Regions from separate parts of the Homo sapiens genome. Here region 1 is linked to region 2. The links are contacts of gene promoters, found by promoter capture Hi-C in blood cells and fetal thymus (Javierre and others, 2016). All regions are on one chromosome and are shown on one strand. The core of a region is centred on a gene start or on the middle of the fragment in contact, and the rest is flanking DNA. Distances in the headings are between cores, read along the strand shown.

Region 1 (6,001 bases), core at 2,763-5,262, 3.5 Mb after region 2:
TGGAGCTGCCTAGACTTGGCCTCCTCTCAGAAGGTTCGGCTGGGAGCCACTGCTTCTGGGAATGGCTAATTTGGGAGCCGCACTGCAAGGCAGTTGTGTGAGGGGTGGGACTCACATGGACCTTGTCCCTGTTTGGCCCTTAAACTGTGAAAGCTGACTTGCTACAGAGCAGTGATGGCCCTTGTTTTTCACTGGCCACCTAGGGCAAGGCCTGGGAGCCTCCTCCTCTGTGAGCCCTGTTGTTCTGGGGTTGGACCGTGGGATGTAGGAATGTAGGATAAGGTAGGTAAAGGATCAAATTTCCTTTTTTCTTTTTATTTCTTTTTTGAGATGGAGTCTCGCTCTGTCGCCCAGGCTGGAGTGCAGTGGCGCGATCTCGTCTCACTGCAACCTCCGCCTCCCGGGTTCAAGCGATTCTCCTGCCTCAGCCTCCCGAGTAGCTGGGACTACAGGCGCCCACCACTACGCTGGCTAATTGTTTTGTGTTTTTATTAGAGACGGGGTTTCACCATGTTGGCCAGGTTGGTCTCGAACTCCTGAGCTCAAGTGATCCGCCCGCCTCAGCCTCCCAAAGTGCTGGGACTACAGGCGCAAGCTATCCGCACCCAAACTGGGATCTAATCTATTTCTTGCAAAAAAGGAAAAGAAAGAGGCCTACCTGAAGCTGAAGCAAGGATGAGCCTGCTGCATTTGACTTGCTCTGAATCAATCAACATGAGAAGCCTGAGGCCAGGCTTCCCCGAGGCCTGCCCCAGGTAGGGTTTACCCCCCTCTCCAGCAGGCCTCAGTGTCCTGGAGTGGGCAGAACAGCAAAGCCCAGGGGCTGGGAGAGCCAGGGCAGGGGCGCGGCCACCTTGCAGGCTCTTCTCCAGGGGACCATGCATGGTGGGAACCCCTGAGGGGCCTCTGCCCATGGCCTAGGAGACCTCATCCCATGGCACTCTTGCTTGTTAGTGGGAAGCAGACGTGATGGGTGAGCTGTGCCATTTGTTTTCAGTGTACTCTGTGAGCTTTGGCCAGAAACAGGCTCAGGGACGCAGGAGGGCACCTAGCACCTGCATCAATCTGCTTCACACCCCTGCTTTGTTCAGAAATCTTGCCTACTTGCGTCTCATGGTTCTGTAAAAGTTGGGTGTTCTCAGGATGTCAGGGAGTCATCCTCTTAGTCCCACAATTTTACTCGGCACAGAACAATGGATGGGGCGGGACACTCACCCCCATCCTCCCAACTGTCAAGGGGCTTGCCACGCATGTCCTCAGGACCCCCATGGCAGGAGACATGAGCTGGCAGGAGACATGAGCTGGCAGGAGACATGAGCTGGCAGGACCTGCTTAGCCATTGGTGGGGAAGCAGCCTGTGCTCATTCTCTCTGCAATTTCCGCCTTTGTGGGGTTAGAGATTCCAGAGAGGGGCTGCGCCCAGTGGCTCACGCCTGTAATCCCAGCACTCTGGGCTGCCAAGGTGGGTGGATCACTTGAGGCCAGGAGTTCAAGACCAGCCTGGCCAACATGGAGAAACCCCATCTCTACTAAAAATACAAAAATTAGCAGGATGTGGTGGTGCACGCCTGTAATCCCAGCTACTCGGGTGGCTGAGGCAGGAGAATTGCTTGAACCTGGGAGGCGGAGGTTGCAGTAAGCCTAGATGGTGCCACTGCACTCCAGCCTGGGCAACAAAGTGAGACTCTGTCTCAAAAACAAAAACAAAAACAAACAAACAAACCAAAAAGAGATTCCAGAGAGGGGAACCCTTGCCTTGCCCCAGCTCAAGGTAGCTGGGAGAATTCTAATGGCATGCCTGGATCACCTCTGACCAGCACCTCCTTTCTGCTCTTTTAAAATATCCCATGTCAGTGCGAAAGATGTGACAGGCCTTTCTCCATCTTCAAGAGTGACACCTCTTCTGAAATGTTCACCCAATGCGTGTTCTGCCGGATAGATACAAGGGGCTTGCCAGCAGATACTTCATCGTCATCATCATCATCGGAAAGGGAGAACTCACCGCCGCCAAGGGGAAGCAAGGATGACTGACAGCCACAGGCCCCTTTGAGTGACTCCAGCACAGGCTACCTAGCATGTAGGTTTCGGGGCTTTGCAGGGGCTTTCTCTTGGGCCCCTCCCAGGCTCAGCAGGCCTGTCAGACTGGGGCAGGACCCAAGCCCTGGCTGGACTCAGCACAGTGCCACCTCCTCAGCTCTCAGCTTGGGGAGTGAACACTTTCCGTTTTCATGCAGAATAAATCTAATTCCTTTGGAAAACAAGCGTGCATGTGCATCTGAAAAGCAGTCTTGCTATTTCTAAGCTTTATGTCTTGGTGCTCATCCTGTTTGATTCTTGGAACACATATTAGACTCACATTGTGGAGTCTGGAGTTGCCCTGTAAGGTGACCTGTGGGGGCTGGCACCAGCAGTTCTGGAGAGTTTGTCAAATGAGTATGACAAGGTGTGGGGCCCCCTCTGTGGACGTGATGGCAAGACACAATGAGTGCCTCCCTGGCTAATGCTCCCAGATGGCCACTTGCCCGGAGCAGAGGACGGTTTGGTTAGGCAAGGGGGTGGCGGTGGCATTGCCATCACGGGATGTCTCACGCTTTCTCCTCTAGACGTCTTAATTTCCAGAACCCCTTGCTTATGTGCAGCCCTCTTCCTGCTGCCACGGCATTTTGCACAGCGTGCATCAATCCAGAAATAGGCTGAGATAGGAGCTTAGTTTCCTATTGCACACCATGCTGGGTGAACCTTTCTGTGCATGCTGCAGGGATGCTGGGTGGATGGGTTGGCAGTGTTCGGCTTCGTAGTTGCCCACAGGCCCTCTGGAAAGTGCGGAGACCAGTGGCTGGTGTAGTTGCGTGAGGACACCCAGAAGGGGTCAGTGAGAAACTAGGGAGGGGAGGGCCTTGCCTGCTCTGGCAGCAGAAACCCCTCCATGTAAGGTGTTGGTGCTCCACGCCAGCAGCCTGGGAACCCTGAAGTCCACGATCCCTCCTGAGCCTTCCGGACCCCTCGACTTTCCCCCAGCTCAGGATCCGCGGAAGTAGCGACTCAACTGAAGTTATAGTCCCGGGAGCTGGCAGGGCCCCGGGTCTTCTCAGGCTGAGGTCGCGGGGCAGAATGGTCCGAAGCTCACCGGGGTCACAGTCGGACCGAGGCGGGTGTGCGCCTCGACCGGACGCCAGGGGAGCCAGCAGCCCGGCCGCGCTGGCGGGGCCGGGGGTTCTCCGGAGTGGGTAGGGGCTCGACCGCACTGCCCTGAGTCCCAAGCCCTGCACCAGCGTTCCCCAAAGGCGGAGCGTCCTGGCTCCACGTTGGAAGAGACATTACCGTGACCAGGAAGTCTGGCCTTCCCAGGCTCCGCCCGCTCCGTGCAGCCCAAGCTTCCGGTCTCAGTCTCAGCTGCCTGTGTGAATCGGAAGCTACACTACGCGTGCGCCACAACAGGCCGAATGTGTGCGCATGCGCGCGGCCCATATGGTAAATAGTAATGAAGAATAGTTTAGGAAAGTACCTGTACGGGTGGCGCCGTGGCTTAGTTGGTTAAAGCGCCTGTCTAGTAAACAGGAGATCCTGGGTTCGAATCCCAGCGGTGCCTCAACCGAGCGTCCAAGCTCTTTCCATTTTTGCTCCTGCACTTTTGTGCTCTGTACCCGGCTGCCCGATACTATGAGGGTGTGAGCGGGATCCCGAGAGGCCTAGGTAGACGGGCCCCCCAACGGGGCGTGGCCTCGGCCACGGGGGCGGGTGCAGGCGGGCTTCGGACTCCACCTTCTCGGGTCTCAGGCTCTGTGGGGCGTAGGCGGCGCGGGGACCCAGGCGACCGCGGTTGCCATGGTGCTGGCTGGCCGTGGGAGGCGAGCGGCGGGCTGGGAAGCAGCTGTGCGAGTCCAGCGAGGAGCCGGTGTTCGCCCCGAGGCTGCTTCCTCAGGGCGGGCGGTGGACGCGCTCTCCCACGCCGCCTTCTGTGGCGTGGGTTCCTCGCGCTAGTCTTCCTGGCTCCAAGCTGCCACTTGGGGGAGCCCACGCGGGTGCCGATCCTCGACGTTCGCCGGGCTTAGCTGAGCCTCGCAAAGGCCTGAAGATTGCCCGTCTCCCTGCAGCCGCGCAGTGGGTGCAGCCTTTTCACAAATGCAAGACCTGGACCGGCGGCGAGGCCAAGGGGACCCCGTGTGGAGGGATGCGGGACTGAGTCCGGTTAGCGTGATCCTCAGTCCGATGACTGCGTGGAAACTCCAGGCCAGGCAGGGGACTCTGCCCCAGCTGCAGACGGCCGGGTGTGGGCTGAAGCCAGCTGCCTGGGCTGGGGTTGGTTGCTCAGCGCTGGGGTTCTACCCACATTTGTATGTGGGAACCTATTCCTGAGCAAGTGCATTCGAGGCTTTGGGGGTGGTGGGGTAGGGTGGGGTGAGGCATTGGAGTTTTTACAAACATTCTCCAGGGATTCACATGTCAAACCCGACAGGACAGTCCCAGTGCAGAAATTGCAGTCATGGCATAGGCTGTGTAGTCAAATTCACCTGCCCCAGAAGCAGTTCCTCTTCCTGCCTCTTCTATGGATCTGGGTTTATTGTTTTTGTTTGTTTGTTTATTTCTGTCGTTTTCTAGTCAATTCTCGCGCTTTTGTATCTTGGTTGTTTTTGACTGACATTGCCTAGGAAAGCTTGTAAGGAGACTTTGACGTTTTGCAGTGCTGATAGGAGCGTTCACCTGGATCCAATTAGGGATGAATTTATTGGAAACTGGGCTTGCGTCATTGTGGAGCTGGTTTATTTCTGGCTCATACTTACGCCACTGCAATCCAGCCTGGGCGACAGAGCGAGATTCCATCTCGAAGAAAAAATAAAAATTAAAAAGTCCCTCATTGGATACAGGGTTTGAAATCTTTTCTCCGTTTCCTTTTCTCTTTGCTATTTATTTATTTATTTATTTATTTATTTACTGAGATGGAGTCTTTGTCGCCCAGGCTGGAGTGCAGTGGTGTGATCTCTGCTCACTGCAACCTCCGCCTCCCCGGTTCAAGCGATTCTCCTGTCTCAGCCTCCCGAGTAGCTGGGATTACAGGTGCACATCACCACGCCCGGCTAATTTTTGCATTTTTAGTAGAGACGAGGTTTCATCATGTTGGCCAGGCTGGTCTCGAATTCCTGACCTCAGGTGATCCGCCCCGCCCACCTCAGCCTCCCAAAGTGTGGGGATTACAGGTGTGAGCCACCGCATTTTTTTTTTTTTGAGACAGAGTCTCACTGTGTCACCAGGATGGAGTGCAGTGGTGTGATCTCTGCCCACGGCAACCTCCACCTCCCGGGTTCAAGCGATTCTCCTGCCTCAGCCTCCCAAGTAGCTGGGACTACAGGCGCGTGCCACCACGCCCAACTAATTTTTGTATTTTTGGTAGAGACGGGGTTTCACCATGTTGGCCAGGATGGTCTCGATCTCTTGACCTCTTGATCCGCCTGCCTTGGCCTCCCAAAGTGCTGGGATTACAGGTGTGAACCACCGTGCCCGGCCTTCTTTGCTTTCTTAATACTGTCATTAGAAGTGCAAACGTTTCAATATTGATCAAGTCTAATGTATCTACTTTTCCTTTTTGCTTATGCTTTTGATGTCATATTCAAGACTCCATTGCCAAGTTCAAGGTCATAAAGATTTACACTAATGTTTTCTTATAAGGGTTTTATAGCTTTTGCTCTTACATTTAAGTTTTGGATCTACTTTGAGTCAATTTTGTATATGATGTGAAGGAGGGGTCCAGCTTCATTCTTTTGCATGTGGATTTTCATTCATCCAAACGCCATTTGTTGAAAAGACTATTCTGTTCCCAAAGGTCTTGGCACCCTTGTGGAAAATCAATTGACCATAAATATGAGGGCTTATTTGTGGTTTTCTAATTCTAGTACCTTAATCTACATGTCTAGCTTTATGCCTGTGCCACACTCTTGATAACTATAGCTGTGTACTAAATTTTCAAATTGGGACGTATGAGGACTTCAAAGTTGTTATTTTCAAG
Region 2 (3,628 bases), core at 1-2,500:
TCTCTTTCCCTCTCCCCTTCCTTCCTGCTTTTTGTTGTTGCTGGTGTTGTTGTTGTTTTTTCCAGAAACGCAGTCTCCCTGTGTTGCCTAGGCTGGTCGGGAACTGGCCTCAAGCAATTCTTCCGCCTCGGCCTCCCGAGTAGCTGGAACTACAGGTGCTATTCCAAGATGGTGAAACCCCGTCTCTACTAAAAAATACAAAAATTGGTCGGGGTGGCTCACGTCTGTAATCCCAGCATTGCAGAAGGCTGAGGCAGGTGGATCGCAAGGTCAGGAGTTTGAGATTAGCCTGGCCGATATGGTGAAACTCCGTCTCTACTAAAAATACAAAAAAATTAGCCAGGCTTGGTGGTGTCGCCTGTAATCCCAGCTACTAGGGAGGCTGAGGCAGGGGAATTGCTTGAACGAGGGAGGTGGAGGTTGCAGTGAGCCGAGATCGCGCCATTGCACTCCAGCCTGGACAACAGAGCAAGACTGTCTAAACAAAAGCTCAACAAACTACCTGCCATCCCCAAAACTAATCTCACCTCCTAAAGCATTAACGACCCTTCCTGACCAAATCTAAACTAGCGCCCAGATTTTCTTCCCATATGGCTCAGCCCAGCTCCGCTGCCCCACAGGTGTCCTGTCAGGATCCGCTTCACATTTATAATACCTAGCACCCCACCCCCAGCCCCGCCCCTGCCCCACCAGCCACCCCCACTCTACCCCACCCCTACCCATCACATTCCGCACCCCACCCCCGCCAAACCCACATCCCCACCCCACCCAACCTCACCCACTCCCACCACATCCACCACCCGCACCCCACCCCCACCCACCACACCCATGCCTACGCCACTCCTGGGTGACAGCGAGCCAGGGCCCGGGACTCTAGTCCCAGCTCTGCTGCTTACTTGTGTGACTTCAGCCTCTCCATGCCTCAGTTTCTCCATAGGGACAATGACTACACTAACAGTGTCCACCCCGGCACCGGGAGGGCCGGGCTCCCGGCAGGGCGGGGACCCTCTCCCCAAGGCACTCCCGGGTCTCCAGGCCTGCTCTTGGGGTGCCCCCTCCTCTCGCGGGGCGCGGCCTGGGAGGCGCCCCGCCCCGGCTCCGGGCGCTCCTTTACCTGGGGGAGCGGAGGTCTACGCGGCGCGCTCGGCGATCAGACGCGGCTGCAGCCCGGGCCTGGCAGGCCCCGGGCTCCCCGCCCAGCTCCCCAGCCCCGCGGAGGGTCGCGCAGGCCTTGGTGGCGGCCCCGGCGCTGGCCCCGCCCTCCGTCCCACCTTCCGGCTGCGCCGGGCCTTCCGGGAAGCCACGCGCCGGGCCAGCTCCTGGCTCCGAGCTGCGCCCGGCCTTAGGGGGAGCCGGGGGTCGCTGCTGGGCACCCCCTCCCCGGTCCTGGCCCACCCCGCCGCTGTCACCGGGGCCCTGGCTTGGGTTGCGGGTGGCGTAAGGAGACGAGGCGCCCGGAGAAGAGTCCTGGGAACCGCAAGGCCGCGCTCCCGCAGGCCCAGCCCTGCCTTTCTCCCACGCGCACGCATGATCACATCCGGGCCCCGCGCACCTGCCTCCAGGACCGCGGGGACCTCCCGGAGACCTCCCTCCCTTTGGCCTGGAGGACCCCTCTCTCCCCGCAGCCTGGGCACAGAAGAGAGCACAGGGGCATCTGGAGGTCAAGGGTGCTGCGTCAGTATTTGGTGAATGTGTGGGCCGGAGCCAGATTTCCTCTGTTCCAGAGCCTGCTCTGGAGCCTCTGGGTCTGGGGGTTGCAAAAGGAGAAGCAGGTTGGGTGGGACTCGTAATCCCAGCTGCCAGTGAGGCTGAGGAGGGAGGATTGCTTGAGCCCAGCAGTTCGAGCGTGGGCAACACAGTGACATCCCATCTCTACAAATAATAATAAAAATTAGGCCGGGTGGGTGAGTCATACCTGTGACCTACAGCATTTTGGGAGGCTGAAGCGGGAGGATTGCTTGAGCCCAGGAGTTCGAGGCTGCAGTGAACTATGATCCCACCACTGCACTTCAACCTGGGTGACAGAGTGAGACCGTCTCTTAAAGAAAGAAAAAAAAGGAAAAGAACTGGCTTTGCTCTTAGGAGTCTTGGATGGGGACCAAAGCTGAGGCAAGGCAGCCTCTTAGGAAGGTGCAAAGGGCATGAGGCTGGGGTTGCAGAACTGCCTGGGAATACTACTTTATTGAGGCCTGTGGAAAGCTGTCCCTACTCTTGTCATGCAAGGTCTGGCCTTGAACCATCTCAAATCCAAAAGTGGCTTCTGGGGGGCTCTATAGAGAATTAATCCTAACAGGAACCCTGCAAAGCAGGCATGGTTGTCACTGCTATATTACAGATGGGAAGCTCTAAACACAGGCTGCTCTGCCCAAGGCCATCCTGGTTAGAAAGTTTCAGGGCCCAAACTCCAGCCTCGGTCTCGGTATCTCAAAGTCTCCGCCTGTGACCAGCACTCTGCCTGCTTTCCAGGGTGCCATGGGCACCCAGAGGACGGACCCTTTTCCATTTTTAAAAGAATGGAACAAACGCTCTTAATACCAAGCTTCCCCAGGCCTTGGCTGGGATAAAACAACCCCATTTATTCCTGAATCGGAGCTTTTGCTTGAGTTTGGGTGACTTTCAAGAGGGAAAGTGAACTGAGGCCAGGGGAACTCAGCTTGCTGCCTTCCTGGGGCCTGAGTGTGGCGCTCCCGTTTCTCTGCGGGCAGCTCCCTCTGGCGGCACATTGCAGAACTGGCCTGCAGACTCCTCCCCCAGAGATAGTGGGGAAGAGGGCCTGTGTAGGGAAAGATGCTGGGAGTGAAAGAAGCTTCAAAGTCCAGGCCCTCCAGAGAAGGCAAGCATGTAAGAGGTTCATGCAGCCCAGCGCGGTGGCTCACACCTGTAATCCCAGCACTTTGGGAGGCCGAGGCGGGCAGATCACCTGAGGCCAGGACTTTGAGACCAGCCTGGGCAACATGGTGAAACCCCATCTCCACTAAACATGGAAAAATGAGCCAGACATGGTTGGTGCAAGCCTGTAGTCCCAGCTACTCGGGAGGTTGAGGCAGGAGAACCGCTTGGACCCGGCAGATGGAGGTTGCAGTGAGCCGAGATCGCGCCATTGCATGCAAATCTGCAACCCATCAGCCTCCTGGGCCTCATTCTGATACGAATGCAGGCATAACATGACCGCACACTCTGAACCCCAGAGATGGAGCACACAGTGCCTCATGCTCCTAAAGGCAACTGCGGCCTCCTGCACAGTGAGCAAGGCGTGCCGTGGGGTCTCGGTGGTGGCGCGGAAATGGCACTGGCCCAGCACACAGCGATGCTTTATGCTGCTTACAGTGACCTAGGGAAAGTTCTTCCACGTCTCCGTGCCTCAGTTTCCTCATCTGGGAAATGGCAACAAGAGTAGTACTTATCCTATAGGGTTGTTCTCAACATAAAAGGAGGTAATATATATGAATCTAGATTATTCTTGTTTACATTACAGAATGTGAAAATGAGCGGCTTCTCCAAAGTCCCATGAGCCTCATGGGCCCAAGGTAGTGGGAAATCCAGTTCTACCCCCACCTTGACAAAACATTCTCTTGCTGATGGGCCCAACAATGCCCTAGGGTGCTAGGTGGTGTTCACACGGCCAGCC

Evidence for each region. Contacts are between HindIII fragments. The CHiCAGO score rates a contact against its expected background, and 5 or more counts as called.
Region 1: a fragment that was not itself captured here is called in contact with the fragment with the promoter of C19orf12 in region 2 in 1 of 17 cell types (activated CD4 T cells); the score reaches 5.1 in activated CD4 T cells.

Annotation. Positions count from the first base shown.
Region 1 is chr19:33,173,542-33,179,542 of GRCh38, forward strand. It overlaps TRT-AGT1-3 (tRNA-Thr (anticodon AGT) 1-3), which reads left to right and starts at 3,516; the gene lies at 3,516-3,589. LOC124904691 (a long non-coding RNA gene) reads right to left here and starts at 3,337. Exons shown (of 2, transcript XR_007067228.1): 1 at 659-3,337. WDR88 (WD repeat domain 88) reads left to right here. Exons shown (of 11, transcript NM_173479.4): 11 at 1,855-2,258. The coding sequence ends at 2,031. RefSeq lists enhancers at 2,409-3,173, 2,886-2,955, 4,046-4,105, 4,116-4,235 and silencers at 3,156-3,315, 3,516-3,875. The HindIII fragment of the contact is 1,280 bases long and covers 3,373-4,652 here.
Region 2 is chr19:29,714,011-29,717,638 of GRCh38, forward strand. It overlaps C19orf12 (chromosome 19 open reading frame 12), which reads right to left and starts at 1,251. Exons shown (of 3, transcript NM_031448.6): 1 at 1,115-1,251. RefSeq lists a silencer at 786-1,575 and enhancers at 1,746-1,845, 2,391-2,610. The HindIII fragment of the contact is 2,629 bases long and covers 1-2,537 here.